3 separate regions of the Homo sapiens genome follow, and all the other regions are linked to region 1. Evidence: promoter capture Hi-C in 16 types of primary human blood cells and fetal thymus (Javierre and others, 2016). All regions are on one chromosome and are shown on one strand. The core of a region is centred on a gene start or on the middle of the fragment in contact, and the rest is flanking DNA. Distances in the headings are between cores, read along the strand shown.

Region 1 (2,829 bases), core at 94-2,593:
CCCTACCGTTTCTGCTCTCTAAAACTTACTTGCGCAGCGCCGCACAGCCTCCCACGTCTCTAGCTTCTTTGCTGCCCCTACAGACAGACATGTAGATCATTTTAAATTTAAGGCCTTCACTGATTTCCTTAGGGGAAACAGAGGAAGAGTGAACAGGAGAACCAACCTTAAGAAAAAGTGCTTACAGAGTTGCTGATCTCTAGCTTCAGACACAGCCCCCCTACTTCCTTATTTAGCCGTGCTTAAGGTAAAAGCCCACAACAATAGAAGTCAAAGAGCCCCTTCCTGAGGTGCTCTATGAAAATTTGCATTTCTGAGAGGCTTCCAAGGGGACTGACTCAAATTCATCTTTCTTTTCCCCAGGCTGGCAGTTAACTGCGGAACTGCAGGATAAAACGTTCAAGTGCTGGTGAAAAATAGGGACAGCTTGCAGATGTTGTAAAATTTGGGGCCGTGAAATCTTAACACTGCCCTCCAATCTTCTCACCCTTTTAGATGCTACCATGGACGTTTGTTTAAAGGCCCTCCAAAATGACAGTTTTTGGTTAAGTTCCAGGAAGATAGGGCATTATTTTAATCCAGTAGAAAAAGAAGAGGATATGACCCTACAGTGTGCCAGATAAAGAAGTTTAAGGACAAAACTTGCCCCTTGCTTCAATACTTCATGATATAATCGGACCTGTCGACACCTCAGTATACACAGCAATGAGTGTATAAACTTACTGAATTAATGTGGGCGCTGGATTCCGAGATGAGAAACTCTGAGGTGCAAACAACCACGGTATATTGTGGTTCCACGGAAGTTTCATCGGGTCCTTAAGAAGCCCTTGCTTGGCCTGTTTGAATGCTGGGCATAGGTCGATAAATAGAGCGTAGTTGTTTAAATAGTTTTACTTAAGTTCTGAAATCAACTCTACTTTAAATCTATATAGCTGCAGGTAATGTAATCAGGCCATCCTCTTCCAAGCTGGCAGCCATGGCAAAAGTCCCTTTCTCTTGGCGCGAATTACAAGGAAATTCAAGAAATACTTTAAGATATATATATGCCAAAGACCTGGAGTTAAGTTACTAGGGTGGGGCTGTGTAAATGTTTGGTGACTCACTAAAGAAAGTTGGGATCTGGGGTGCTGGCACCTGGAGGACACAGAAGAAACAAAAGTTGGGGGGCTGGCGAAGGTCGCTAGCACACTTTATCTCTGATTGGCGGAAGCCCTCAGAGTTTTCTTTATGGCGTCACCGAGTACCTGCCTGTAGAAAGGCCCCGTCTCCGTGACGTCACGCCGCATTGGCCAATGAAAGGCCTCAGTCTGCGGGCCCCGAGGAGGGTTGTGGGCCCTTTTTTGTGAATGAAGCGCCACGGAACAGCCCTCCTGGGGTCCCCACGAGCCGCGTCCTGCTGTGCCCCGGCGCCTACGCAGCAGCGGCCGCGGCCGCGGTGGGCACGCACGGTTACCCCGGGCAGCTCCGGCCGCCAGCTGCAGCCCCGTCGCCTCGGCCGCGCCAGCCGGCTGCGGGCACCTGGGGGCGGGCTGGGGGCGCCGGCCGCGGCAGGAGGCGCTGTAGCGAGGGCTGCGGCGCCGGTCCTGCGGCGGCCGCGGGAGGCAGCGGGGCAGGCGCTGTGGGCCGGGCTCCTCCTCCGGCTCCTGCGCGACCGCCTCCCGCCGGGCTCTGCCGGCGCCCGCCGTCCCCGCAGCGCCGCTCTGCGCCCGCCGCCCCGAGCGCCCGCGCGGGGCTGGCGGGAGCCTCGGCGGGCGCGCGGGCGCGCGGGGCCATGGTCGTGGCCCCCTGACGGGCCGCGGCCGCCTCCATGAAGCGGAAAAGCGAGCGGCGGTCGAGCTGGGCCGCCGCGCCCCCCTGCTCGCGGCGCTGCTCGTCGACCTCGCCGGGTGTGAAGAAGATCCGCAGCTCCACGCAGCAAGACCCGCGCCGCCGGGACCCCCAGGACGACGTGTACCTGGACATCACCGGTGAGCCGGCCAGTGGGCGCGCGGAGGGCCCCGGACGGCCGCACCCGGCGCGGGGCCCTGGCCCACCTCCCACCGGGCTGCCCGGGGCCTCCGGGGCCGGGCCGAAATGCCTTCGCCCCCACCCCCTTAAACGCCCCGGCCGCCACACCCCCTTTAGGAGCCTGGCTCCTGAGGAGCGCCCCCCGCCCCGAGTTTCTAGCTGCGTGGGCTGCGAGCTTTAACTTTAGCTTGTGCACCCTCCTCCACCAGCAAGATGGACCGAGGGTCACCTTTCTAAGTTGCGGGCGTCAGCCCGGCGCCTCGAACCTGCAGCTCCTCCCCGCGGGCTGCTTCTGAGTTCCTGTGGATTCCGCCTTCAGGGATTGCGAGCCCGGTTGGCCCTCGCGCGAGTCACAACCTCTGAATCAGCCCCTGAGGATTCCCCGAGCGCGCTGAACGCGCCTGGCACGGGAGCTGCCCCTTTTTGGCGTTGGCCAAACCCCCGCTGCTCCGTAGCCTTGGGACCCTGGGCGCCGCGTTGCCCGTCCGGCGCGTAAGCCCGAGCCCCTCTCCTGGGCCTCCCGCGCCCTGCCCCCTAGCGCGCCCCCCGAACGCCTCCGCCTCCCGGGGTCCGCTCCCCGCCGGGGCCTCGAGAAGGAAGGTGTCACGTTGGTGGCATTCGAGCCAGCCGGCAAGACGAATGTCCGGGTTGTCACTTTTGAGAAATCCCAGCCAGCCAGAGCAGGTAGCCAAGCAGCCCTTCGATAGCTGTTCTGTTAGTGCTGATTCGACTGTTCTTGGAGACTCATAAATCCAATTTGGCAGCTGTTAGGTTTGCTGGGATTGACAGTGACGCGTGTGAAGGCATTAAATGTGATGATGT
Region 2 (2,829 bases), core at 162-2,661, 290 kb after region 1:
TCTGTCCTTTAAAAGACATAAATAATGTCTTTTTTTTTTTTTTTTGAGATGGAGTCTCACTCTGTTTGCCCAGGCTAGAATGCAGTGACGCGATTTCATCTCACTGCAACCTCCGCCTCCTGGGTTCAAGCGATTCTCCTGCCTCAGCCTCCTGAGTAGCTGAGATTATAGGTTCCAGCCACCAAGCCCAGCTAATTGTTGTATTTTTAGTAGAGACGGGGTTTCACCATGTTGTCCAGGCTGGCACTCTGTGAGTTCTTAGGAGTGAGTTCTTCCTAGAGATGGTGAGGATGGGGTTCCTTGGAATTCTTTGAAATCTGGAATTATAAGAGAATGATGTGCTTGGGTACCATTGTGGATGGTGGAAAGAATGCAAAAGTGGCCTGTGAATATTTGAACGTTTGTTGAGTTTCTATATTTGTTGGGGCAGGGAACGGTAATCAGTGACAAGGTATAAACTAGGTCATTTGAGTTCTGTTTGTGACTGCCACAATGTTGGGTAAGGCAGTTACTTTTTGTGCTGTTTTTAGAACAGGAAGAAGAAGGCTTTGAGCAGAGGCTCTGGTCCAGGAGTTTCTACTTGGGCACCTCCACCCTGGGGGCCCTAGAAGCAGAACACTCAGCTGGCCTCTGTTGTCTGAATAAATGTGCATCAGATGTATGTGCTGTTATATTTCAAATGTACACAGATAATATCATGACTTCAAAATACAGAGCACGCTGGGCGTGGTGGCTCACACCTGTAATCCCAGCACTTTGGGAGGCTGAGGTGGGAAGACCACCTGAGCCCAGAAGATGGAGGCTGGGCTCATGTGAGCCCAGTGAGTTGTGATTGTGCCACTGTACTCCAGCCTGAGCAACAGAGTGAGACCCTATCTAAAAAATATAGAATGGTAAAAAAGGTTACTAAGAATTCAGCAATACTTTTAAATATCTTTGTATTTTATTAATCTACAGATAGTAAAATCAAAGCTAGTCATGTGGAGGTTGATATTTTCAGTAATAAAAGTGGTGAGGTTTCCCTTGCACTGAGTACTGAGTTAACGAAGGTTCTTTTAGTTCAAAGTCTTGGTTTTGGCCAAAGAACTATGCAAGTTTTTTTTGCATATAGAAATAGATTCTTTTAAAAAATGTAATATACTGCTACTTTGAGCCTGGTGGTTCTATATTTGCCCTCTCTGGGGACATCTAGTGGGTATATTAAGAAGTGCAAGCTGGGAGTGGTGACTAATTCCTATAGTCCCAGCACTTTGGGAGGCCAGAGAGGGAGGATTGCTTGAGCCCCAGAGTTCCAGATCAGCCTGGGCAAGATAGCAAGACTCTGTATCTAGAAAAAATTTAAAAATTAGCCAAGTTTAGTGATGTGTACCTGTAGTCCCAGCTTCTTGAGAGGCTGAGGTGGGAGGATTGCTTGAGCCTGGGAGGTGGAGGCTGCAGTGAACCATGATCACACCACTGCGCTCCAGCCTGGGCGAAAGAGTGAGACCCCATCTTTAAAAAAAAAAAAAAGAAAAAGAAAAAGAAAAAAGAAGTGCAGCCCTTCTATCTAGCCGCCATCTGTTGCTAAGGAGGATGGCTGCTCACTGAGGCTCACTCCAGAATGTTAGGGAGGGATTCTCCTCCCTTGGCTCAGCCCAGCTGGTGAGTGATGTCCTAGTCACCCACACTCATGATGGATGGGTGCTGGGATCTTAGATCCATGATGTCTTCTGATTCTGAATGCAGGCTGAGGTGGTTTCACTAAGATGGAGCTGGGTGTGACGACACACATCTGTAGTCCCAGCTACTTGGAAGACAGGCGGGAGGATCACTTGAACCCAGGCATTCATGTCCCGCCTGGGTAATATAGCCAGATCTTGTCAAGAGATGAGGTTCCCCCCAACCCTTTTTTAAGAAAAGAAAAATGGAGGATGGAGAAAATGTTGCATGATTGGAACCCTGGAGTTGGAATTTTAAAGCAAAAGTGGAAATAAAGAACATCCATGCTGTCCTTGGTTTAAGGCTGTGCTGGTGCATAGGCGGCCTGCAGGAAGCTCCTCTCTGCCCCTGCGTTGGGCTGGGCCCTGTGCTGTGCTCCCGCTGCTGTGCAGCTCTCTCCTCTGATCTGGGTCTGAGTGGCTCCGGGGCAGGTGCTGTGGATGGGATGGTCCCCTCTGACAGCCAGGGCCTGGCAGAGCAGGCACTCAGTGGCATCAGTTTGAGTTTTTTAATTTTTTCATTGTATGGATAAATAGGATTATTTATAGCTCCTGGGAATCTAAATTAATGTTAGATTTATTAAAATTATAACAATTTGAGAAACTTGGATTTTCTTTTTTTTTTTTTTTTGAGACAGAGTCTCGCTCTGTTGCCCAGGCTAAAGTGCAGTGGTGCGATCCCGGCTCACTGCAACCTCCGCCTCTCAGGCTCAAGCAATTCTCCTGCCTCAGCGCCTCCGAGTAGCTGGGATTACAGGCGCATGCCACCATGCCTGGCTAATTTTTTTTGTATTTTTATTAGAGACAGGGTTTCACCATGTTGGCCAGGATGGTCTCAATCTCCTGACCTTGTGATCTGCCTGCCTTGGCCTCCCAAACTGCTGGGATTACAGGCGTGAGCCACCACACCTGGCCGAAACTTAGATTTTTTCTTAAGCCTTAAAGTTCAACTTACAAATATTATTGCCTTATTTAGAAGGCTAACAATTTTTCTATAAAAGAACATTTACTTTCATTATTTGATAAATGGCTTATTAACTCAAGTTTAGCTGATTAAAATCCCCTAAACAATGTACTGTAAATCAGTTCCATTTACAACTTAGTGAATTAAAAGAATTTAAGCATTTTCAAC
Region 3 (2,829 bases), core at 174-2,673, 270 kb after region 1:
CTTGATTTGTCAAAGGATGTATTGGTTCACATCATGAAGTAGTTTCAGCACAACCTTTAGAATGGATGGACAGAACGGTGTCTTAAATTGCCAAGTGAAGCCCAGGTGCGGTGGCTCACGCCTGTAATCCCAGCACTTTGGGAGGCTGTGGCGGGCAGATTACCTTAGGTCAGGTGTTTGAGACCAGCCTGGCCAACATGGCAAAACTCTGTCTCTTCTGAAAATACAAAAATTAGCCGGGTGTTGTGGCGCATGCCTGTAATCTCAGCTACTTGGGAGGCTGAGGCAGGAGAATCGCTTGAACCCGGGAGGCAGAGGTTACAGTGAGCCGAGATTGCACCACTGCACTACAGCCTGGGCAACACAGCGAGACTCTGTCTCCAAAAAAAATAAATAAATAAATAAAAAATAAGTAAATAAATTGCTAAGTGAAAGTGGTATGAAATTATTTAATCTCCATTTATTTTTATTATTTAATGTGATTTGTTAATGGTAAATGTGAAAATTGATTTGGAAAATTAGTAAGCTTAATTAAAAATGTAAAACATGTAAAAGATAAAACCAATCAACCAACCCTTGGTGTCTGACATGCTTCACTCTTTTCCTGGCAGCCTACCGATGTTCACCGTGCTCAGGAAATTCACCATTCCACTTACCTTACTTCTGGAAACCATCATACTTGGGTGATTTTGTTTTTCCTCCATTCTTCCAGTGTGCCTCCCACCCACTGCATTTCTTTTACCCAGCAAATTCTAGTAGCCATTGCTAGTTGCAATAATTTAAGGACAAATGGTTTATTCATTTAAAAGTAGTTTTGTGCTTCTGTGATTCCCTAAGAACTTAATGAGGGATTTTTTAAAAGTTGTAATTTTACCATAGACAAATAATGCATGTTTGTGGTAGAAAATCGTAAGAAAGTAAAAGAAACACTCCAAAAAGGATGTAAACCTGTTTCCTGAGCCAGATGGAATATAAACCAATTTTGGAATACAGAAGGGAAACTGTCCATGTATACATACAGGATAGTTGTGCAGGGTATGAGGGATATCAATTCTGACGCAGTAATTATAATATCAGAAGAAATTAATTTTTATATTGTTGGTATAAAATTTTTCATAAGGATATTTAGTCTGATATCCAAAAAGTTGATTCTTGATTTTGCTGGGAGGATTATTTAGAAATGAATTTTGGTTGGTGGTTCAGTGTTTTAAGCCCTTGTATTGAATTTTATCATAATCTTTGAATACTCACTATCAGTCCATGCAAACTAGATCCACCAGCAGGAGCGCTTCTGTATTTTGTCCCAGTATCTCTCTAGTGAGAACAGAGAAATCAGTTTGTAATTAGATTAAGAAAACTGCTTAAGAAATAATGTAAATTTAGTCTGACTTAGAAACACTTTTAGTGCTTTCTCTGCATCAAGCATTGTCTGCTGGATTTTAGCTATAAAAATGCTGATGTCTATTTTCAATTTGTTTAAAAAATATAATCATATTTCAATGTTTTCCTCTCTGCTCCCTTTCCTTTCTTATTTGTGTATTTATTACAGGAAGCAGTATTCACTCAACATCATCCTCAGTGTCTTTGCCATTATTCTCGGGGCTTTCATAGCAGCTGGGTAAGACTTTGGACTGTTTCTGCTCAATAACTTCTTTGTGTCTTTGACAATAGGCCCAGCCCCATCCTCAGTTTTTCATTTTCCATCTGGCTGCTGTTGAATTGAGCAGGCAAGAGACAAATCTGTTGAAGTTAGTGGAATCCCCATGTGTTCCTATGAAAGTCAAAGTGGGTCCCACATTGGCCAGAAAATTTCTGAGAATATATGAAGAGAGCATTGCAAGATATTAATATAGCTTTTCTTCACAAAAAGCAGTGAACTGTTTACATTTCTTACTGAATGTTTGTCTTCATTATAACAACTTTACTTGAGAAGTTCTTAGGCATTTGATTAATAATAACAGACTTACAAAGCCTTTGTCTGCTGATTTATTTTATTATTCCATGATACCTTAGCAGTTGCTGTTTCCGATGGTAGAATGCTAAATATATTTGTACGTTTGGGATATGAGCCAACACTGGTGCATGACTACTACTTTAATAATTATTTTGCAAAAGGAATAACGAGGACTCCAAGTCTTCGTGGGCAGGCAGGTGCTCAGATTTCTGCTATAGCATGGTGGATAGTGCATGTGAATAGTTACATCCCTGGGTTCAAAACTTAGCTCCAGGCTGGGTGTGGTGGCTCACCCCTATAATCCCAGCACTGTAGGAAGCCTAGGTGGGAATATCACCTGAGCCCATGAGTTTGAGATAAGCTTGGGAAACATTGTGAGAACCTATTTCTACAAAAAAAAAAAAAAAAAAAAAAAAAAAGGAAAGAAAATTAGCCTGGCGTCGTGGTGTGTGCCTGGAGTCTCAGCTACTCAGGAGGCTGGGGAAAGAGGATCTCTTGGGCCCAGGAGTTTGAGGTTGCAGTGAGCAATGATTGCACCACTGCATTCTAGCCTGAGCAAAAGAGTAAGATCCTGTCTCTAAGAAAAACAAATCATGCTTACTGTCATTATAAATGTATTTAGTCCATTGTGTAGACTAAGGTTTATTACTTACGTGTCATCTGTACCTTTCTCTCCCCTAGTCCTAGCCAGGGGCTGAGTTTTACTGCTTGAAAGCTGGCTCTGGGGTCTCAGTGCTCCAATTCACACCGCAGGTATAGGGCCAGCACCCATTAGACAGCAGTTCTCAGAGCCTCATCTAGTCATGACAGGCTTTTTTTGGAATGAAATTTTATAAGTAAAGTAGTTTAAAGAGGGAGGAGTTCTGTGGAGGATG

The links. The method cuts DNA at HindIII sites, captures the fragments that hold promoters and counts their contacts. A CHiCAGO score of 5 or more calls a contact.
Region 2: a contact is called between a fragment that was not itself captured here and the fragment with the promoter of CDC14B in region 1, in 9 of 17 cell types (activated CD4 T cells, naive CD4 T cells, total CD8 T cells and 6 more). The highest score is 7.1, in activated CD4 T cells.
Region 3: a contact is called between a fragment that was not itself captured here and the fragment with the promoter of CDC14B in region 1, in 1 of 17 cell types (naive CD8 T cells). The highest score is 6.9, in naive CD8 T cells.

What each region holds. Positions count from the first base shown.
Region 1 is chr9:96,618,357-96,621,185 of GRCh38, reverse strand. It overlaps CDC14B (cell division cycle 14B), which reads left to right and starts at 1,343. Exons shown (of 14, transcript NM_033331.4): 1 at 1,343-1,967. The coding sequence starts at 1,808. RefSeq lists an enhancer at 1,692-2,192. The HindIII fragment of the contact is 24,798 bases long and covers 1-2,829 here.
Region 2 is chr9:96,326,305-96,329,133 of GRCh38, reverse strand. The region is part of intron 9 of SLC35D2 (solute carrier family 35 member D2); the gene reads left to right. The region is part of intron 9 of SLC35D2-HSD17B3 (SLC35D2-HSD17B3 readthrough); the gene reads left to right. Among named protein-coding and RNA genes, the nearest start is that of HSD17B3, 26 kb to the right of the region's middle. The HindIII fragment of the contact is 3,533 bases long and covers 1-2,829 here.
Region 3 is chr9:96,349,892-96,352,720 of GRCh38, reverse strand. It overlaps SLC35D2 (solute carrier family 35 member D2), which reads left to right. Exons shown (of 12, transcript NM_007001.3): 5 at 612-683; 6 at 1,550-1,618. SLC35D2-HSD17B3 (SLC35D2-HSD17B3 readthrough) reads left to right here. Exons shown (of 26, transcript NR_182427.1): 5 at 612-683; 6 at 1,550-1,618. Among named protein-coding and RNA genes, the nearest start is that of SLC35D2, 32 kb to the left of the region's middle. The HindIII fragment of the contact is 1,789 bases long and covers 529-2,317 here.